Linked DNA regions of Homo sapiens: region 2 is linked to region 1. Evidence: promoter capture Hi-C in human tissues and cell types (Jung and others, 2019). All regions are on one chromosome and are shown on one strand. The core of a region is centred on a gene start or on the middle of the fragment in contact, and the rest is flanking DNA. Distances in the headings are between cores, read along the strand shown.

Region 1 (5,974 bases), core at 2,469-4,968:
CCATCATCGCTGTGAAAAGGAGCTCATAAAGCTCCTGACAAAAGCATCACATGCTAGTCAGTTATCCCTTTCCCTTCCCTGAACTCTAGCCCTTGTCTAAGTTGCAGCAACAGAAAGCTAAAAACGCACTCTGTCAAAAATGCCTTTGCATAACTGTGGTTTCACCACATTGCTTTGTATTTTAGTAACAGTCCATGGGGGTGTACATTTCTGCCTTTGGTCAAACTATTATTGAGGACATGATCCACAGCATTATTAAAATCTCTCCTAAAACACCTACATAACAAACTCCTCTCAAGTCTCAAAGATCAGACTGTTATATCCATTAAAGAGTGAATTCCTTTTGATAAGAGTAGTTCAGTAAATATCTTGGTAACCTCAGATTGCTTCCTTTAGTCACTCCTTTTGTCTCAGAATTCATGAGCTCCAGGAAACTTAGAGCAAAGTTTTCTGCACATCTCTAAAAGACTAACTTCCCTAGCCTAAGGTAGTATCTTCCAGCTACTCTGTGTGTGTGTTTTCCTTCTTTTTAGGGTTTGCAGGTTGTTGTTTTCTTTTATCTTTGCACGTTTCACACTTAACACTACATATGCTCATAGGATGTAGTAGACAGCAAAGCATATGAGTAAACATTTGGCCTTTGGAAATAGAAATCGTATGTTTGCCACAGCTCTGCCACTTCCCAGCTATGTGGCCTTGGATACCCTACATGATCTTCACTTTCTTAACTTGCAAAATGGGAGTAGTAGTCTCTATCTCATGGTGCTGCGGTATTGTTAAGTTAAATGGCCCAAAACAGGTAAAGTGCTTAGGATAGTGGCTAGCAAGAAGTAAGTGCTGAGTAACGATTAGCTATTGCTGAGTAAGCAATAAACATACCGACGTGCTTACATTTGTAGATTCACATAGCACCTGCCCAAGCTAACTTAGTAAATATGCATGCAATTCTTCATCAGTGTCTAAGTGGAAAGCAGATACTCCACTCTATTCAGGGCCTTGTAAGACTGGAGCATGTGGACACTTGGGCCCATCCCCTCTATAGTCTGTCTAGTGGTGGTGTTGAGTTAGAAGCTACTGGGCTACCTGCTCCCATATACACCTATTAATTGTATTCACCTGGGACTTTGATGAAGTCTGGTGGACAACTGGGTGACTCAGAGCCCTCTCAGGACCTTGTGGGAAGGGCTCTGATCAGTGGAATCTCCAGAGCTCAGTCATTCCTCCATCCCCTTCAGCTCCAAACTGCAGCCTCAGACAGACTACAAAATAGATTTCTGTCCCAGGCCCCTGGCAAACACTGTGTGGGCAGCTCTCACCTTCCCTCTGTTCCAATCATCTGCTCACTCTGCCCTGTGCCGGCCTCCGGTGATAAAATAAATGAGTGTTCTGCTTGAAGGCTGCCCTGACCTCACCAATCTCCTACTTCCAGTTTGTCACAGGCCTCGGGGACAGTTTGCTTCTCCAAATATTTTGTATATCCAGACGTTCCCATTTCCTAGGAGCAAAATAGTGCTACTATAGTCCTGCAGGGGGTCTACTCCATCCCCACTTTCCACCATCTGGGCTAGGTTATTTTGATGGCTACATAATATTCCACTAAGTGGATGTTCTATAACTTTGGTTAATATACTGGTAAATAGGTTACTTCCAGTTGCAAGATTAATTTTATGCATCTTTGTGCAGGAAGAGTCACTGGATCAAAGAACAAGTAGAGTAAAATTTTAATATATGTTGTTATTCTGTTCCCAGGAGGTTGCATACATTTGTACTCTCATCCGCTGTGTAACAACTATTTCTCCATACCCTCACCAACACAGGGTATAAACAAACTTCATGTTTGTCCATCAATAGGTTTTAAGAAAAGCCTCTCCTTGCTTTAATTTTTAATTCCCTAACAATGAGTGAGGTTCTGCATCTTTTTATAGCTTTGTTAGCCATGTCAATTAATTTTTCCACAAAGTATCTTTCCATGTCTAATGCATTCTTTTTGTTTATGGGGTTGTCTGAAAATTGCTTAATGATTTGTATGAGCCCTTGGTTCGATAAGAAAACTTATGTGTTAAAGTGTGTCCCGATTTTTTTCTCATATTATCTAACTTTTTATGAAATTTTGATGTGCTTAATTTTTTAATGGGATTAATTTACTAGTCTTTTCTTTTATGGGTCCTAAGAGTATTTACATGCGTTACTTCCCTCTCTCTTCACAAGGGCATAGGGAACATTTATTTGTTTGTTTGTTTATTTTTATTACTTTTTGAGACAGGATCTTGCTCTGCAGCCCAGGCTGGAGTGCAGTGGCGCGATCACGGTTCACTGCTGCCTCTGCCTCCCGGGTTGAAGCGATCCTCCCACCTCAGCCCCCCCAAGTAGCTGGGATTACAGCCCCGCGCCACCATGCCCGGCTAATTTTTGAATTTTTAGTAGAGACGGAGTCTCGCCATGCTGCTCAGGCTGGTCTCGAACTCCTAGGTTCAAGTGATCTCCTGCCTCAGCCTCCCAAAGTGCTGGGATTACAGGCGTGAGCCACCGGACCCCGCCAGGAACATTTATGATGTATCCCATTTCACCTTGGAGTAAACTGAAGCTCAAAGAATAATGAGTGAAACTGGGTTTAGATCTTGAGCTCCCTAATTCCCCATCCAGGTCTTCTTCACAGCCTGGCTGCCCTTCACATCTTCCAAAAAGGTCTTTCAAGTTGTCAATTTGTTTACACTACTCTTCCAAACATTTATATCGAAAGTTTAAAGGAAACAATAAGTACATAAAAAAGAAAGATAAGAAATAGACCTCAGTATTAACCTTTTCAAATATTTAGTTGGTGATAGCGCAGAAGAGGGGAAACCGAGGCTGTCCTTGCCATTCACGCTGTGAAGATGCGACCCTGGCTCACTCCCCGCAGCTCCAGGGCAGCTGGAAGCAGAGAACTCCCATATCTCTAATAAAGCCGGGCCTCTCGCAGATGTCAGCGCATTGCATTGACTCCTGGACACCTGCACTAAAGGCCCTTCAGGCACCTCCAACTAAATATGCCCAGAACTGAACTCACCCTATCTCTTCTCCATCTCAGGTAAGCTGCCAGGTGGCCAAGGCTGGGAGTCATGATGCTTTCTCCTTCTGAACATCCACAATCGGGGGCAGAGACCTTCACCTTCCATCTCCTAAACACTCTACGATGGGTCCTCTTCTCTTCACCCCCACTCCCCGCACCCCTGCCACACACCTCTCCCACCATTGCACGCGCCCAGTCTCCACGCGCATTTCCTCTCCCACCCTGCAGCAGCCGCCCTAGCATATTACCTCTAATGCAAATCGCACCACTGTCCCGCAGGCTGAAAGCCTCGGTGCACTCAGGACAAGAGTCCACGCTTCTTAAACAAACGGTCGACGTTGTCCGCGACCTGGCCCGGCCCAACGGGTCAGACCGTCATTGGCCATCTCACAGTCCCGGCGCTCCAGAGCCCCTCCCACAGCGGGACATGAAGGAGGCGGATACGGCTGGACCTTACCCGGCCCGCCCAAGGCGTCCGGGACCCGCCCAGGCGCTGACGCTAACTGGAGAGCCTGGCCCCGCGGTCTCCTTGTCCTGCCAATCTCCGGGAGGCGGGATCCGTCTGAGGGCCTGGACCAATTCGGGAGCGGGGGCGCGGAAAGAGGCGGGGCTACGAGCTCCTCCCAGAGCTCCAGCCTCCAGGCACCCGGGATCCAGCGCCGCCGCTCATAACACCCGCGACCCCGCAGCTAAGCGCAGCTCCCGACGCAATGGACCCGGCGCTGGCAGCCCAGATGAGCGAGGCTGTGGCCGAGAAGATGCTCCAGTACCGGCGGGACACAGCAGGCTGGAAGATTTGCCGGGAAGGCGTGAGTGAGGAGCTGGGCGGGAAGGGGTCGCGGAGACGGCTTCGTGGAGCCCGGGTCCCCAGAAGCCCCCAAGCGCCTCCTCTCCCCGTTGTTTTCTGCTCCCCAATCCCCTGGACCCGATTGAGAGGGATTCCAATGGGGATTGTTTTCTTCTTTAAAAAAAAGATTGGGCCTGTTATGCTCACAATGACTTCAGGTGGTAAGTATCTGTTCCTTTCACTCAGTGACTTGCCCAAGGTCACCTGGCTGTTGAATGCTGTTTAGGACTGGATGTTTCTGTGACAGTGGTAAAAGTAAATAAATTGCATTTAAGGGGTAAGCAGGTGTTTAAAAACAAAACAAAATGAAAGAATGTGGTCGCAGCTAAGGAGGTTTTTACATGTTGTTTAAATCCAGTAAAGTCTGATCCAGCATCTGATGCATACTAAGGTTTTCTTCTGTGTTCATTACAGCATGAACCCCTCTCTTTGTCGTTGCCAGAGGGTAGCATGGGAGTAGTTTTGCTTGACCCTTCTGACTTTTCATTACAGCATGAACCCCTCTCTTTGTCGTTGCCAGAGGGTAACATGGGAGTAGTTTTGCTTGACCCTTCTGACTTTTCATTACAGCATGAACCCCTCTCTTTGTCGTTGCCAGAGGGTAGCATGGGAGTAGTTTTGCTTGACCCTTCTGACTTTTCATTACAGCATGAACCCCTCTCTTTGTCGTTGCCAGAGGGTAGCATGGGAGTAGTTTTGCTTGACCCTTCTGACTTTTCATTAAGTAGCCCTGGGTTGCTCAAGGAAACAGAATGCCTGGTGGCTTTTAAGATAATTTTAAAAACCACCCACGGCTCTTGGAGTCAGCCAGTTAAGATCTTTTTCTTCATCACATTCTGCTGTGGGGACAGCTTTGCCCAAGACTAGTCCCAGCTTTTCCACGTATGGGTTGCACAGCCTTGGAGAGTCGTATCTCTTGAGGCCTCTTACCCCTCTTCTGTAGAACAGGGGATTAAGCCAGGTGACCAGAGCCCTTCTAGCTCTAAAATTCTGTGGTTCTGTGCCTTTTGACAGAATGGAGTTTCAGTTTCCTGGAGGCCATCTGTGGAGTTTCCAGGGAACCTGTAAGTGCATGCCTCGTTCAAAGATTACCAGAGGTGCCGCACCCTTCCTGGTATCTTTATGGGCCTGCCTCCTAAAATATTCAAATCAACCCTATAACCTGTGATCACTTGTCCTCCAGAAAAGCCTTACTGTTTTTAATGAAATCATTTCCAGCAAACTGTATTCTTGTGAAAGCTTACTGTCCATTTCTGCAGGCCTGAAGGGAGGCGGGGCTAGTGACTTTCAGCCCCTTCTCTGCAAGTCTGTCCTAAAGAGTAGTGACAGACATGGCATGGTCCACCTTCTAGTCCTTAGATACAATCTCAAGATAACAAGTTTGATTGATGCGTTGGGGTCAAATTCCTTTTCGTGCTCCAGGTACCGAGGAGAAGGCATTGTATATGGGACACTAGAGGAGGTGTGGGACTGTGTGAAGCCAGCTGTTGGAGGCCTACGAGTGAAGTGGGATGAGAATGTGACCGGTTTTGAAATTATCCAAAGCATCACTGACGTAAGTCTTTCCAAGCATGTTATCTCTAGATAGTGTCTGGGCCAGGCTATAGTAACCCCCTCCCATTTCTTCTGGAAGGGGTCCGTGATACCTTTTGTTAAGGGGGTGTGTCCTGCAAGCACAGGCTGCCCACTGCTTGCAGCATTGGAGGCCTGCCTCAGCCCAGTTTCCCGGTGGGAAACCTCATGACTCAGAGAGGGAGAGAAGCCCCAAACAGAGTCTCTGCGGGGAGCATACCTGTTCCTTGTGTGGGGCTGCTGCACTAGGCAACACAGGATCCTCAGCCCCTGGCACCCACTTCCCTGAAGCCTGGGCCAGTAGCAGCTCCACGTACCTGCATGACCCCAGTTACCCTCTGGTATGAGGGTCTTCACGCTTTTTGCTTACATGCATCCAACAGATTTTTGAGAAATTATGCATCATCCTCACACATCCAGTTGATGTCTATTAATAACATTTAGTTTACAACTAAATTTTCATAAGTTGCAAAGCATGTCATTTTTGACATGTAAATCTCAGTTTT
Region 2 (5,974 bases), core at 2,241-4,740, 170 kb after region 1:
GTTCGATAATTGATACATGAAGCCAAGAGTGATATTCAAAATAGTTAACCACCTCTATAGTTTTTCTTGAGTATCACTGGATATTAGCCAAATAAAACAAACTCCAGGCACCATGGTGGGGTAGGGTCTTGCAGGCCCCACCATTGGGCTGAACATTAACCCTTTAGTTGCTGGTTGTAGGGAAATCCAAGGGTCTCCAGGGAGGTGCCAGGGTTACAGGGGGCACTTTAGGGGCTTGAGTCAGTAGCTATTTTCCAACCAGGTTGGAGACATTATCGTATTTTAACAGCCAGTATAGCCATGCTGAGTGTACCAGCACACAGCCCATTTTGAATGTCTCTTGCCAGTCCCCACTTCTCCCCAGGAGAGGTGTTGGCCCTTTGCAAACGCAGTCTCCTTTGCCTGGAATGCTCTTCCCATGTGTGTCCTTTCCAGCTCAAGTGTCATCTGAAGGCAGGCTTCCCTGGACTCCAGGTATAAGTAATGCGGTCCTTCTACTGGGATTTCAGCATGGCCTGTGCGTAATCACACAGATGGTCTCCTCTTCCCTCTCTCTTGCATTTGCAGAGTCCTTACCTTGTTCCTTACTGTCAAACAATTCATAAACATTTGTTCAATTGAAAGAAAGTGAACCTTAGAGCTGGGAGGAGCCCATTGTCCATGACTCAGGACAAAGCTGTGCAGGCATCGTTGCAGCAAGTGACTCAGTGGCATTTTCTGTATAATGAATGACTGCACACAGCACGCAGGATGCTCTCCACAATTTGTGATTGTGCACCCTTCCCAATAAGCAATCCTTTTGGGTATTTGCTACACACATACATTTATATGTAATTCTATTAATAAATTTTACTCATGCCCATTAAGCTAAAATGTCATGTACATTTAAAAACATTTTGTCTCAAAAAAAGAAAAAAAACTAATATTTTGTCAATTTTACACAATGAAGTGTAAAAATAAAAAGATAAACTTTTTTAAAGGTAAAAAATAAAAACTATTTTGGATCGTATAAAGCACACACACATTAATGCACTTTAAAGGATAAAATAATGATATACGCAGAGTTCTAAACTCTTCTTTTCACATCTCAATGAGCATCTCTGTGCCCCACACTGGAGGTCGCTGCAGAGGTGCTGTGTGCCAAAGTCACTGTACACAGGTCCATACAGCGGCTGCATCCTGGAGAGCCAGTCTCCCCCTGCCAATATTCTAAGTTTCCATCAAAGTCCAGCTCAGATGCTAAAAGCAGATTATTAATATATCTGGAAGTCATGTTAGAGACCACATATTCTAATCTCTATAGGACACAAAAAAAGGAAAGAAAGAAAAGGAAGGAGAGAGAGAGAGAGAGAGAGATAAATACCCATTTTACAGCATCCTTTATAAATGGCAAATAAAAAACAGCTAGAAGTAGGTCTAGACTATTGGTCCTTAAATAGCAGACCCCTCCCAGGGACATTTAGCAATGTTTAGAGACGCTTTGTGTTGTCATGAGTGGAGGGGTGCTACTTCATCTAGTGAGCAGAGGCCAGGGATGCTGGCAAACATCTTATAATGCACAGGAAAGCAACCACAACAAAGAATTAGAAAAAAAATTAGATTAGAAGGCCCTTGTCCAGAAGAAGGGATAGAAGAATCTGACTTGGTCCTGCCCCAGCTCTGCTGTTTAGGAGCTGTGTCCCTGAACAAATCTCTAAGCCTGGCTCCTCTGTAAAAGTTACGGATCCATTCATCTGTTGATTCATTCATTCATTCACTTAACAGATATTTCCCAGGAAATGGAGATAAACAGCAAAGAACAAGACCTGGTCTAACCCCAGAGAGTAGTGAAAATTAAATAAGAAAATGAGTATAAAAGCCCTTTATAATTTTGAGGTGCACAACAGACCCAAGGTAGAAATACTGATTTGTAAATAACACGAGGTGATGCATGTAGGTGCTCACTTTCTAGTTATTTATTGTCTTTCTTCTATTCTGAGAAGTACAGACTTCTCTTTTCCATCTTTTAACGTCTCTGAACTCTGTCTGTGTACATTAAAATGAAGTGCTTCACAATCACCGTCAGCCAGGCGGCAGTCACGCCCCCAGCAGTCACTGTAGTCAGTCACTGATTACCTGAGTGCGAACTTGGTCGGTGGCACTAATTCCTGGTTACACTAAAACTGAGACAGAATAGGGAGTTAGGGTAACCAAGGGTTAAGGCATGGGCTCAGCAACATGGACTTCCACTCACCAAGGCTGACCTGGCTACAGGTCAAGTGCCCAATTTACCAGCAGCAGTGACCAACACTGAGCCCTTGATATGGCACCAGTCCTTGGTTCTAGGCAAGATTAGGCAGCATAGAGGCCACAACCTCACTCCTGTGATAACAAGACAACAAGTTTCTACTTCAGCCTCTAATTGGCTGCGGGCAGTCTCCACTTCCGCCTCTGATTGGTCATGGGCCAAGTCTCCACTTCAGCCTCTGATTGGTCGTGGGCCAATTATTCATAAGGTGTAACCCTCCACAGGGCACCAAGGGGTGTTACCAAAATTCTTCTAGCTTAGTTTAAACCCTAACAAACATTGTAATCGGGGCTCTTGAGCCTCTTGCCCAAGCCTGCTTGTGCTTTATAGAGTGTACTTTCACTTAAATAAATCTGTGCTTGTATTGCTTATGGCGTTGCTTCATTCTTTTGTCACTTTGTGCATTTTGTGTTGCTCTGTTTGTGCACTTTGTTCAATTCTTTGTTCAACGTGCCAAAAACCTGGAAAACTCATAGTCAAGACTTTCCATCTGGTGGAAACCTCTCGGTGTTCAGTCAAGAAGCCATTGGAGGATCACTTAGGAAAGGATCAAGAGCCCTGATGTTGTCTGAAGCTTTCCGTGGATATCTTACGGTAGGAGCAAGAATGCACTGAAATTGGTTTAGATGCTTTCAGGTGGCTCACACTGTTAAAGAATGTCTTTCCCCAGCTGAAGCCCAAACCCACCTGGTCTCACCCCTTGGAGACACACAGGCAGACCTAACTCTCAGCTAAGCCAGAGGTTCTCAACCCAGACTGCACATTAAAATAAATTAGCAAGTTTTACATCACATGTTCTCACTTATTTGTGGGATCTAAAAATCAAAACGATTGAACTCATGGACATAGAGAGTAGAAGGATGGTTACCACAGGCTGGAAAGGGTACTAGGGACCTGAGAGGGAGGTGGGGTTGGTTAATTGGCACAAAAAAGAATAGTTACAAGGAATGAATAAGACCTACTATTTGATAGCACAACAGGTGACTATAGTCAATAACTTAATTGTACATTTAAAAATAACTAAAAGAGTGTAATTGAATTGTTTGTAACACACAGGATAAATGCTTGAGGGAACAGATACCCCATTCTCCATAATGTGATTATTTCACATTGCATGCCTGTATCAAAACATCTCATGGCTAGGTGCGGTGGCTCACGTCTGTAATCCCAGCACTTTGGGAGGTGGGTGGATTACCTGAGGTCAGGAGTTCGAGACCAGCCTGACCAACATGGAGAAATCTCATCTCTACTAAAACTACAAAATTAGCCAGGCGTGGTGGTGCATGCCTATAATCCCAGCTACTCGGGAGGCTGAGGCAGAAGAATCGCTTGAACCCAGGAGGCGGAGGTTGTGTTGAGCGGAGATAGTGCCATTGCACTCCACCCTGGGCAACAAGAGCAAAACCCCATCTCAAAAAAAAAAAAAATAAAATAAAAATCTCATGTACCGCATAATATATACACCTACTACGTACCCACAAAAATTAAAAATTAAAAATGTTTTTAAAATTTTTAATTAAATTTAAATCAAATAAATTAGTGAGTTTTTAAAAATACGAATACCTGGGTTCCACTTCAAATAAAATAAGAAGCTCTGGGGTGGGCCCAAGCATCTGTATTTTTTTAATGTCCTACCCTAGAAATGCTGATTGAATGGTCCAGAGTGCAGCCTGGGCCGCGGGCTTTTCAGTATTCTTCAGGAGATTCTAATGTGCAGCCAGAGAGACTTGCTGAGGAAAGCCTCCTCTGACCACCCTAAGGAACCACTGCTTCCTCCTCCACCTCCTAACACAGTGGGTCTTCGCTGTGGCTGCACATGGGAACCATCTAAAGAACACTGACAAAGCCCAGTGCCCAGGCTGTACCCCAGACCATTCAATCAGAATTTCTGGGCTCAGACCAGGAATCAGTAATTGTTACAGTTCCCAGAGTGAATGCAACGCATAGCCAAGGCTGGAACCACTGCCCTAAATCCTGCAGTACTTGATGGAAAATGCTTGCCTTCTTGAAGAGGGTCAGTCTGCATTGACTGAAACTGCATCTATTTAAAACACATTTACAGCCCATGTTCTACCTCTCAGTATACATATTTGTGAACCGGCCTGTTTACCTGTATCTATAAGACTTGGAAACCCTACATCCCTTTATAATACCCTACACATCACAGGCACTCAATGAGGAATGAACAGATGAACAAATACATGGAAGGACATACATTTATTTTGTCAGGAACTATCTAATCACATGGGTGCCACAACTAATGTGCCAGTTTCAAAGACAAGGTAGAGATTCTGCAGCTTAAAAATCATTACAAAATAATAGGTTACTGATCAGGTAGAGGTCCTGACCTGGAAAGCCAAAGGTAGAAACAAAAATAGGATGTTTTACAAAGGTGGAAATGTTTAATTCCAAGGTAAGGCCACAGCTCAGAGCTGTCAGTTTTTTGTGTTTTAGTACATTCAAGAGGGAAACTGTGGTACCAAAAATTCAGTATAGGTCCAACAGCTTTATTACATAGACATAACTTTAAAAAGTAACGCACTGTCCTTGTAGACAATGAAGGATATAAGTAGAGGAAGCTGAGTTCTTCAGAATTTGTTTATCAACAAAAGGCTATTGTTTGTCACTTTCAAATACTAATTATTCTCCAGAGCTGTTTTTCTTCAGCCCTAGACTCCCACCACAAATTCAATAATCTTAATGTAATCTTTATTTTAATATAGTGCCCAGAGAGTCCCACATCTGATTCAAAAATAGCTTGAGGCATGACCAAGGTTGTTAATTTCTTTTAAAGCTACATTTGATGAGAGCGGGACCAGGGAAAACATGCACGTGCCTGGCGTGTTACTGCGTGTCAAGGCCCATGGCCTGCTCCATGGCTCGAGTGTCCTCTGTGGGTGGTTTGGGCAGATCCAACATGGAGGACGAGGCATCCCTGGGATTCCCAGTAACCAACATCCAGTGGTTCCTTGGTTTCTCAACTCTATGTGAATCCAGGTATGTGTGAGCTACAACCTCAGCCTCCTTTCCAAAATAGGTGCTGGAGCAAGAGAGAATCAGTTGTGGTTTGAAATTGAATAACAACTCTCAATAAGCTGTTATTAATAATTTAATCTCGAAAGCACCTTAAGAAGCGGATTGCTAGATAAAGCCCTAGGGAATCTCTAAAATGGGACATGTTTGCAGGGAGGTTACACCTTATTTGGGCAAAGATTAGGCCAGTAGGATCCCATTAGAACCAAAGTCCTCTTGTAGGGGTAGGATTTGTATAAAAGAAGGGGCTCTAATAGGATTTTTCACACCATTGAAGTTCTATGTGGCGGTATTTCATCAGCAAAGGACATTTTTTGTATGTGCAGCCATACACTATCAATTGAGCTTCTTTGCTTATATTCATGGCCCCCAGCCCCAATCACAGCATTTTGTTGTACCCTGAAATACAATACCTTAAGAAAAGATGCCGGTGGGCTGCCAGTCCCCGATTTGTGTGACAGTGATTGATGAGAATTTTAGCATTTGCCTTAACAGATAAAGAAAATGTGTTATTAGCATTCTAAACATTTTTTTTTTTGCTTTTAGGGAAAAGCTTACCTAAAAGCAAAAATTTGGGATTATACTATACATTTATTTCAATTTAGTAGAAAAAAATTATATATATTCACAGTCATGTGCCACTTCACAACATTT

The links. Contacts are between HindIII fragments. The study calls those that stand out against the background at their distance.
Region 2: a fragment that was not itself captured here is called in contact with the fragment with the promoter of STARD5 in region 1 in 1 of the 25 tissues and cell types used here (lymphoblastoid cells).

The regions. Positions count from the first base shown.
Region 1 is chr15:81,321,885-81,327,858 of GRCh38, reverse strand. STARD5 (StAR related lipid transfer domain containing 5) reads left to right here and starts at 3,718. Exons shown (of 6, transcript NM_181900.3): 1 at 3,718-3,858; 2 at 4,911-4,960; 3 at 5,319-5,451. The coding sequence starts at 3,760. It overlaps TMC3-AS1 (TMC3 antisense RNA 1), which reads right to left and starts at 3,526. Exons shown (of 7, transcript NR_120365.1): 1 at 3,298-3,526. RefSeq lists a silencer at 3,177-3,226. The HindIII fragment of the contact is 12,739 bases long and covers 1-5,974 here.
Region 2 is chr15:81,147,691-81,153,664 of GRCh38, reverse strand. It overlaps CFAP161 (cilia and flagella associated protein 161), which reads right to left. Exons shown (of 7, transcript NM_173528.4): 6 at 5,734-5,807; 7 at 4,486-5,327. The coding sequence ends at 5,132. Among named protein-coding and RNA genes, the nearest start is that of CFAP161, 16 kb to the right of the region's middle. The HindIII fragment of the contact is 7,252 bases long and covers 1-5,974 here.